Regions from separate parts of the Homo sapiens genome. Here regions 2 and 3 are each linked to region 1. The links are contacts of gene promoters, found by promoter capture Hi-C in blood cells and fetal thymus (Javierre and others, 2016). All regions are on one chromosome and are shown on one strand. Each heading gives the region's core, a stretch centred on a gene start or on the middle of the fragment in contact. The rest is flanking DNA. Distances are from core to core; before and after follow the strand shown. Region 1 holds the start of S100G (S100 calcium binding protein G). Region 2 overlaps GRPR (gastrin releasing peptide receptor). Region 3 holds the start of MAGEB17 (MAGE family member B17).

Region 1 (2,595 bases), core at 55-2,554:
ACTGAATCCATGCTGAAGGCCTTATTGGGTTTGCTTGGTGACTTGTGGGTCTTCCAGGCATAACTTGGCATTGCTTCCATTTATTATGGCTAGTCCTGCAGAGTCCTGTGCTGAGGCTGCAGGAGGGATAGAAGGCTTGGCCCTTGTTTTCTGAGAGCTTGCCTTCTGAAATGTGGCCTGACTTAAGGGGAAGAAACCCCACCTGCATGTGTCCTCCCTCAAGCGACGGTCCCTATAAGGCTCTACCGGAGTCCTCTCCCCTCCCTCCCTCCCCTCCCACCATCAGTCCCATTAAGTGGGCTCTGCGGATGGCCACTTACTTTGAGTAAACTGGGGAATTCAGCCTGAATCAATAGCTTCAGTTCATCCTTTGACAACTGGTCTGGATCACCTTCTTTGGCTGCATATTTTTCAAAAATCCTCTTCAGTTCCTCAGGAGACTTTTTAGTACTCATTCTGGTGTCTTATAAATTGGGAAGAAAATAAACTTACCAAAAAGCTGAAGTACAGTTTTGTGCTGAGGGTTGTCTGCAGGATTTTAGTGCCATTGGGCCATTTCCTTGGCATAAATGGGGAAGAATAAGGAAAAGAGAATGTCGGGGTCGGAATGGCACCAGTAACTACTAACATGTTTAAAAAATAAGCATCTTAGGCCAGGCACGGTAGCTCATGCCTGTAATCCCAGCACTTTGGGAGGCCAAGGAGGGTGGATCACTTGAAGTCAGGAGTTCGAGACCATGGAAGCCTGGCCAACATGGTGAGACCCTGTCTCTATACAAAAATTAGCCAGGCGTGGTGGTGCGTGCCTATAGTCCCATCTACTTGGAAGACCGAGGCAGGAGAATCGCTTGAACCCGGGAGGCGGAGGTTGCAGTGAGTGCGATGCCACTGCACTCCAGCCTGGGTGACAGAGCGAGCCTCCGCTGCAAAAAAAAAAAAAAAAAAAAAAAGACATCTTAGATAGTATGTTAAATGTCTGTTCTTAGAGTACATCTGTTAGGAGATGGTCCCTGGAGCCAAACATTTTTATTAGTAATTAATGACATTCTACACTTTTTATGTACCTGATCTGCACTCTGCAGGCTGTGGTCTTGAAGAATACTTGACCACAGCTTCTAGCTTCTAAGTTACAGGGAATATCTCCAGATGGCATAAACTCACCTTCTCTCCAGACCATTATCTTTCACACCATTCTAAAAGGAAGCAGAGTATTAATGCAAACAGAAGGAGCTCTAGGTAGTACCAAAATCACACTAACCTGGTTGCCCAATAGTGAAACAGCTAGAAGAATCAAAGAGGAGTTTGAAGAGCTGAGCAGAATCATGACACTTTTATAGTCTTTACGGGCACGCCACCCTGATTATGAAAATTTCCTTTTGTTGGCCATTTAAGGGTAATTATTAATGGTTTTTGAAACTCAGGCTTAAGACTGCATGAACCCCATAATTAAGGGCAAGATCCAGTAAAGGTCCATCTCGACAGTTGCTTCATGGTTCAGAGTCGTAAGCTTGGATTTTTTTCCCCCTGAGATTATATTTTCCCTCCAATGTAGAATTATATTTGCTCACAGTTCACATTTCATAAAGCTTAGATATAGAGGATTCTTTTCAATTTAGTTGCATATTTAGGCTTTAAAAAATAACTTTCTTCATATCCAGAAAAAATAAATGCTGCCCTGTGCGGTAGCTCATGCCTGTAATCCCAGCACTTTGGGAGGCCGAGGCAGGAGGATTGCTTGAGGTGAGGAGTTTGATACCAGCCTGGTCAACACAGCAAGACATTTCTACTGAAAAATTTAAAAAATCAGCCAGGTGTGATGGTACATGCCTGTAGTCCCAGCTACTGTAGAGGCTGAGGTGGGAGGATTCCTTAAGCCTGGGAGGTTGAGGCAACAGTGAGCCATGATTGTGCCACTGCACTCCAGCCTGGGTGACAGAGTGAGATCCTGTCTGTAAAAAAGAAAAAATGCTGTCATAGAAGGACAATATTACATAGTTTAAAAAATTACGGTATGGCCATTGAAGTCCTTCTGATGTCTTTACATATTAGCAGCTTAAATATTTGAATACATGAATGAATGAATGGAAGTATTGCTTCAGAAGCAGGTTTAAGAAGTGGAAAGAAGATACTCAGTAATTTGTGGTTTTATTTGGCAAATCAATATTGAGTAACATGGTCATTTTTTCAGCTCTTTCATTATTTGTTGGTCCTGTGTCTGCTTTTTATTTCTCATTATCCTTTTCCTTACCAAATATATTTCGTGATCATTCGAAAAACTTGTGAGAACACTCGACTTACTCTTGTTCAGTTGGAAATACTTCAAACTTTTTGTAACTGCCATGATTTAAAATTGCCAAGGAGATTGATTTCTACTGGAAAGAGTTCCATGAAATAAGTAGGACATTTCCAAGGGACATTGATCTAATGCTGATTGTAACTCACAGGAAGGGGTTCCAGGTGGATTTTAAGAGCACTTTACAGCTTTGAAACACTTGTACACTTCCACACTTATAGAATTTTCCCTGACTCTGCCTTATATCACCTACAAACTGAGGACTGGACTATTGGGACTGTATTTCTCCCTGATGTTTCTCA
Region 2 (2,595 bases), core at 72-2,571, 510 kb after region 1:
TGGCGATGCCTTCCCTTAAGCTAAAAGTGCAAAGAAGAGTAAGGGTGTCCTATTTGAGCCTTCTAGATAGTGGGCCACTCACTCCTGCTGCCTGAGCCACATGTGATAAGGAATCCTCTGATGTGGGTGAGCCTCAGTTTGGATACTACATATTACTCATGTTTAATTCATCCTTCTATTAAAATAAAAATCAATATAAATAGAGGCTTTGGTACTTTCCTCCCTTATCTCTCAGATCAGGCCACACCTCTCCGGGAGCATGTGAAGTTCACTTTGGGGTTCATTGTCCCAGAAGACACTTTCCAGAAAACTTGGCTAAGGTTTCAAAGGTTCTCTTCACCCCCATATACACGCCTTGCAGTTCCCTATGGCCTGAGGCCTAGAGCAGTGTCTGGGCTCCTTAAAATATTCAGAGGCCTCAGGGCCAGCAGTGGTCATCTGAGTGAGACTTTGACCTTAGAGCCAAGGTGAAAAATGGCACCAGTGAAGGACTAGAAACCAGAGGCTGGAACAAGGCTAGAGAAAGAGCTACTGACATTGAGAAGGTACTGATCCTGGGATATGAGGGATGTAGAAGCTTAGGGATAAAATGGAAAGAGAGATGCAATTAGTTGTTGGACATCTTATGGCACTTTCTCATAAGGAGTTGGGCAACTATTGACCCTTGGGCCAAAAATGAGTTTCAGCAGAGTGATCCAATTTCAAAGCTCAATGCTAATCCTGTAAGGGAGCCCATCAGAAAGGTATATGCAGGATGAAATATTACAGTTACCAGTGGATATGTTTGAAATGACAAAGGAAAGTAGTAATCCATTTAATTTCAGTAGGTGTTCAAACATCCTGGCACACATTGTTCATTCCTCAAAAATGTTATGGAGGAAGAACATGTATTTATAACTTGTTAAAATTTTATGAGCCAAAATGTTTGAAAAACATTTCAAAATCCCATTTGCAAATTGTAGTTAGACACAGCCTGCAATTACTTTACTGCGTAGCAAAGAAGATACACAGAGAACGGGGGAAAAAAACAAATCACGAAGACAAAGAAAAATTAACCGTGCTCTAGGTGGAAGGGATAATAGATTCAGGGTCATAAATTGCCTTTGTAAATTGTCGTTCACCTCCAAACAGACCCCGAGGCAAGGATTTAGGTGCAAGTAATTTATTTGGAAGAAGATGCCAGGAAGCACAGGGAGGTAGAAAAAGCCAGTAAAGGGCACCACGGTGGGCAACTGGGGCACATTCTTGCTGGGAATCCCCTGAGAAACCACAGTTAACACGTTCCAGAACTGTGCCACCAAAGGATGAGGTGGGTGGGGTGTTTACCCACCAACTCTCATCTCTGGTTGACAATTGTCTGTTGGTGGTAATTCTGGGGCACTTCAGCCTACCCCAAACCTTTCCTTGGCCAGAGATCACCCTTGGTCAGAGAAACACAGGAAGCCCAGCCCTCTAAGTGACCTCTGAGTTGTGCCAGGGGATATGGACACCCTCACTATGTACATTTTTTCTCCTGATCCGGTCAGTTTATCAAACACATATATAGAAAATGAAATATCACAGATAATTTTCAGTTTTTAAATATATTTCAAATCATTAAGGATAAAAATGGAACTTCTAAATTATCATAATAAAATACATTATCATTTTTTTCCAAAATAAGAATCATTACAGCTCAAAAATACCATCATGGCATATGAGTCACTGTGTCTAATTATAAAAATTTAACAGCACTAGATTTAAATAAATGTTTGGGAAAGGTTTTATAAATGGTGAAATGGTGACCCAACTTTGTAGCTTACTGGGACCACTGGCCCAGGAGGTTGATCCTGGCAGTGCTGGTGAGGCATCACCATATGGTGCAGAGGTCCAAGACGGGGAGAGAGGGACTGGATGAAGACTGGGAACCCTGCACTCTAGTCCCACTTCTATGATTAACTGTTTTTGTGAAAGCATGTTGTCTCCGTTTCTTTTTATTTTTTGTTATTTAACAAAAACTTACATAGTACTCACTGTGTGCCTAGCACAAAGTTCTCGACACTTTTCAAGAATTAGAGGAAGCTTTCCCTCTGCCCCTACATAACAATACTAGAAGATAGGTATTACTATTGTCATCTTTTTCTTAACACATGAAGAAACGAAGGCACTGAGAGGTTAAGTAACTTGTTCACGGTCATACAGCTAGCAAGTGGAAGAGCTGGGGTTTAAACAGAGACCATCTAGCGTCTGAGTCCATACTTTAAACTGCAAGATTTTGATGCCTCCATTTTCTTCATCTGTGAAACAGAGCTAAAGATACCAATCTTACTTAGTATGATGAGGATTTAAATGAGCTAAATTTTTCAAACGCACTTTGAAAAACAGCATTATTTAAATCAGGGGTGCCCAATCTTTTAGCTTCCCTGGGCCACACTGGAAGAAGAAGAATTGTCTTGGGCTACACATAAAATACACTAACGATAGCTGACAAGTAAAAAAAAAAAAAATCTCAAAAAAATCTCATGTTTTAAGAAAGTTTATGGATTTGTGTTGGGCCGTATTCAAAGCCATCCCGGGCCGCAGGTGGTCCGCAGGCTGCGGGTTGGAAAAGTTGGA
Region 3 (2,595 bases), core at 30-2,529, 480 kb after region 1:
CCATCCTCAGCTCACTACAGGCAACACCCTTCAAAGCAAGATCCTTGCTTCAATGGGACCTCAGATTTGGACATTCAGGGTAAGCCACATCCTCTCAAGGCTGTTTAGGGCCTTCAAGGCGTGACAGCAGGGGTGGGACTATAGGGGACCCCACTGCTCTGCCTCAGGGTTCTGAACCTGGCTCAGGGTGGGACCTCCAACTCTTTGGGACGCGACTCAGGTCGCTCCACTGACCTGAGTCAGCCAGGCCCAGGCCCAAGCTCTCACGTCCCAAAGTTGCTAGAGGGAAAAGTCACGGCATGCCCCGTCTGGCTATGCCTGCACGGGGTCTCCCAGAGCTGACAACAGGGCAGCAGAAACCTGGCTCTCTGGCTCTCCCTGGCTCTCTTGCTTTTTCCTTTTTTTTTTTTTTCTTTGTGACAGACACGGGGTCTCACTCTGTCGCCACGCTCATGGCGTGACCATGGCTCACTGCAGCTTCGACCTGCTGGGCTCAAGCGATCCTCCTGCCTCAGCCTCCCGAGTCGCTGGGGCCACAGGCGCCGGCCACCATGTCCCGCTAGTTTTTGTTCTTTTCTTTCTTGGAGAGAGAGGGTCTCGCTTTGTTACTCAGACTGGTCTGGAACTGCTGGGCTCGGGTAATCCTCCCGCCTCAGCCTCCCAAAGCACTGGGATCACAGGTGTGAGCTACCATGCCCGCCTCGTGGGCCTCCCATGTTTGGGAGAGGTCTCCTCATCAGCATCAGGGACCTCATTTCGATTAGGGCCTAGGAGTCCATCCCTCTGCAGAATCGAAGCCTCACCCTCACACCAAACCCTCCCCTCCCTGGTGCCCTCTCAGAAGTCAGTGCCACAGCCTGACTGGAGCCTCCCGCGGCTGAGGGAGGTGGGTACCCGGGGGCGGGGGTTGGGGGACACAGGGTGGTCGCCTTGGCTGCGTGTGGTGGGCCTTTCAGTCCACGATCAGGGTCCTTACCTTGATACCCAACCAGTCTTGGGGTTCTGGTAGCCTGAGGTGGCGTCCCTCAGACGAAGATCCTCACTTCCGGCAGCTTCCCAGGCGGGCGGATGTCGGAGTGAGCCACATCCAATCAAGTCCCTGCTGGGTCTCCCAGGGCTGAAAGCGGGGCGGGGCTCTGCTCGGGCCCCCTTTTTGCATAGAAGTCCTCTCCAGTGTACTCAGTGTCCTCTCCGGGACTCCAATGAGTGTCCAGTTCTCCTCCCTCAGCTGAACTGTGCTTTTGCCTTTAGACAGAGTCACTACCCTCGTTAGAGCATCTAAGCAGAAAAAAAGGGGTCCTCAGCTGAGGTCTTTGCTATGGCTGACAAGATTAAGCATTTTTTTATTTTTGTTTTTATTTTTTGCTGATAACCATTCCCTTATGTCACTCTCGGTCCTCACCTTGATTCGAGTCAGTTTCTGGGGCTCCACTATGCACAGCTGGGGCTTCCCCCACCAGACCAAGATTCTCCCTTCCCTGAGACCCTCCAGGCCGAAATGACAGTCACCTCAACCTGACAGCTCTTCCTGAGCTTCCCAAGTCACAGGAGAGGTAAGGATGGTGTGACAGGAGTGGGGATGGGATGGTGTGGCAGCGGCGGTGCAGGGAAGGGGAGATGTGGGTTGGTGGAGGTAAGAGTTTTTGTGTCTTCCTCTGTTCTAGTATGGATGTGTGGTTTTCTAATTGCTCCCTGAAATTCCTCACCTTGACACCTGACTGACTAGTCCTGGAACTCGATCCTCATGGGACTTGAGGCTGCTCCCCTCTGATCAAGGTCTTCACCTTCCTGGGACTACAGAGTTGTAATCAGGATGAGCCAAATCTACCAATGACTATTCCAGAACGACAAGGGCTGTCAGCCAGGGCAGGACTCTATGGGACCCCACTGTTCTGGCTTGTTCCTTCCTTTATTCTTAATTCAGGGTCATCACCTTGGTATCTATCAGAAGCTCACAGTCCTTCCTCTACTGACCTGAGTTTGTCTTCCTGAAATCTCTCATGCTCCTGAGAACCTTGAAGGATAATTGTGGAGATGCTCAGCCTCAGCCCTGCCTGTGGCCCTCTAAGTCTGAGAGCAGCCACAGGCTGGTCTCTGTTGGACCTCCAATATTCTGGGATGACGGTATCCTCAGTCCTCCTACATGGGGCTTCACATCTTGGTTCCTGTCTCATTAATTCAAGGCTTCCTGGGAAATGCCAAATCCCTGCAATCTCTTTAACAGTTTTTCTTCCGCAAACTTTGCAGAGAATGGCTCCTTGCCCTGAAGTGATGAGAGATCAGGAAGTTGTAGCTCAAGGCAGGGGGCCCAGGACAAGTGGTGGGTGGTCAAAATAAAGCCAGTTGGTCTATTCCATTTCTTTACCAGCCAGACTTTGCCTCTGCTGTAACTTTGGTTCTAATAGATTGGCTTTCTCCAAGGAAGGGTAGGGCCACATGATTCTGTGAGTCCCCAATCTTTTCAGGTGATCTGACATCACATATGTAGATGATCATGTGGTCACTGAGTATTGTCTCTTTCTTTTCCTTATTCATAGCTCTCATTTATTTTTGTATTCTTATTGCTCTGGCTATGTATTCCAAACCAGTAGTTTG

The links. Contacts are between HindIII fragments. The CHiCAGO score rates a contact against its expected background, and 5 or more counts as called.
Region 2: a contact is called between a fragment that was not itself captured here and the fragment with the promoter of S100G in region 1, in 1 of 17 cell types (naive CD4 T cells). The highest score is 5.6, in naive CD4 T cells.
Region 3: the fragment with the promoter of MAGEB17 here is called in contact with the fragment with the promoter of S100G in region 1 in 2 of 17 cell types (non-activated CD4 T cells and naive CD8 T cells); the score reaches 5.4 in non-activated CD4 T cells.

Annotation. Positions count from the first base shown.
Region 1 is chrX:16,648,867-16,651,461 of GRCh38, reverse strand. It overlaps S100G (S100 calcium binding protein G), which reads right to left and starts at 1,304. Exons shown (of 3, transcript NM_004057.3): 1 at 1,259-1,304; 2 at 321-463. The coding sequence starts at 455. All of the region lies in intron 13 of CTPS2 (CTP synthase 2), which reads left to right. The HindIII fragment of the contact is 12,685 bases long and covers 1-1,509 here.
Region 2 is chrX:16,139,353-16,141,947 of GRCh38, reverse strand. All of the region lies in intron 1 of GRPR (gastrin releasing peptide receptor), which reads right to left. Among named protein-coding and RNA genes, the nearest start is that of GRPR, 17 kb to the right of the region's middle. The HindIII fragment of the contact is 1,484 bases long and covers 580-2,063 here.
Region 3 is chrX:16,166,165-16,168,759 of GRCh38, reverse strand. It overlaps MAGEB17 (MAGE family member B17), which reads right to left and starts at 1,279. Exons shown (of 2, transcript NM_001277307.2): 1 at 977-1,279. MAGEB17-AS1 (MAGEB17 antisense RNA 1) reads left to right here and starts at 81. Exons shown (of 5, transcript NR_187144.1): 1 at 81-1,553. RefSeq lists an enhancer at 1-544. The HindIII fragment of the contact is 6,177 bases long and covers 1-2,595 here.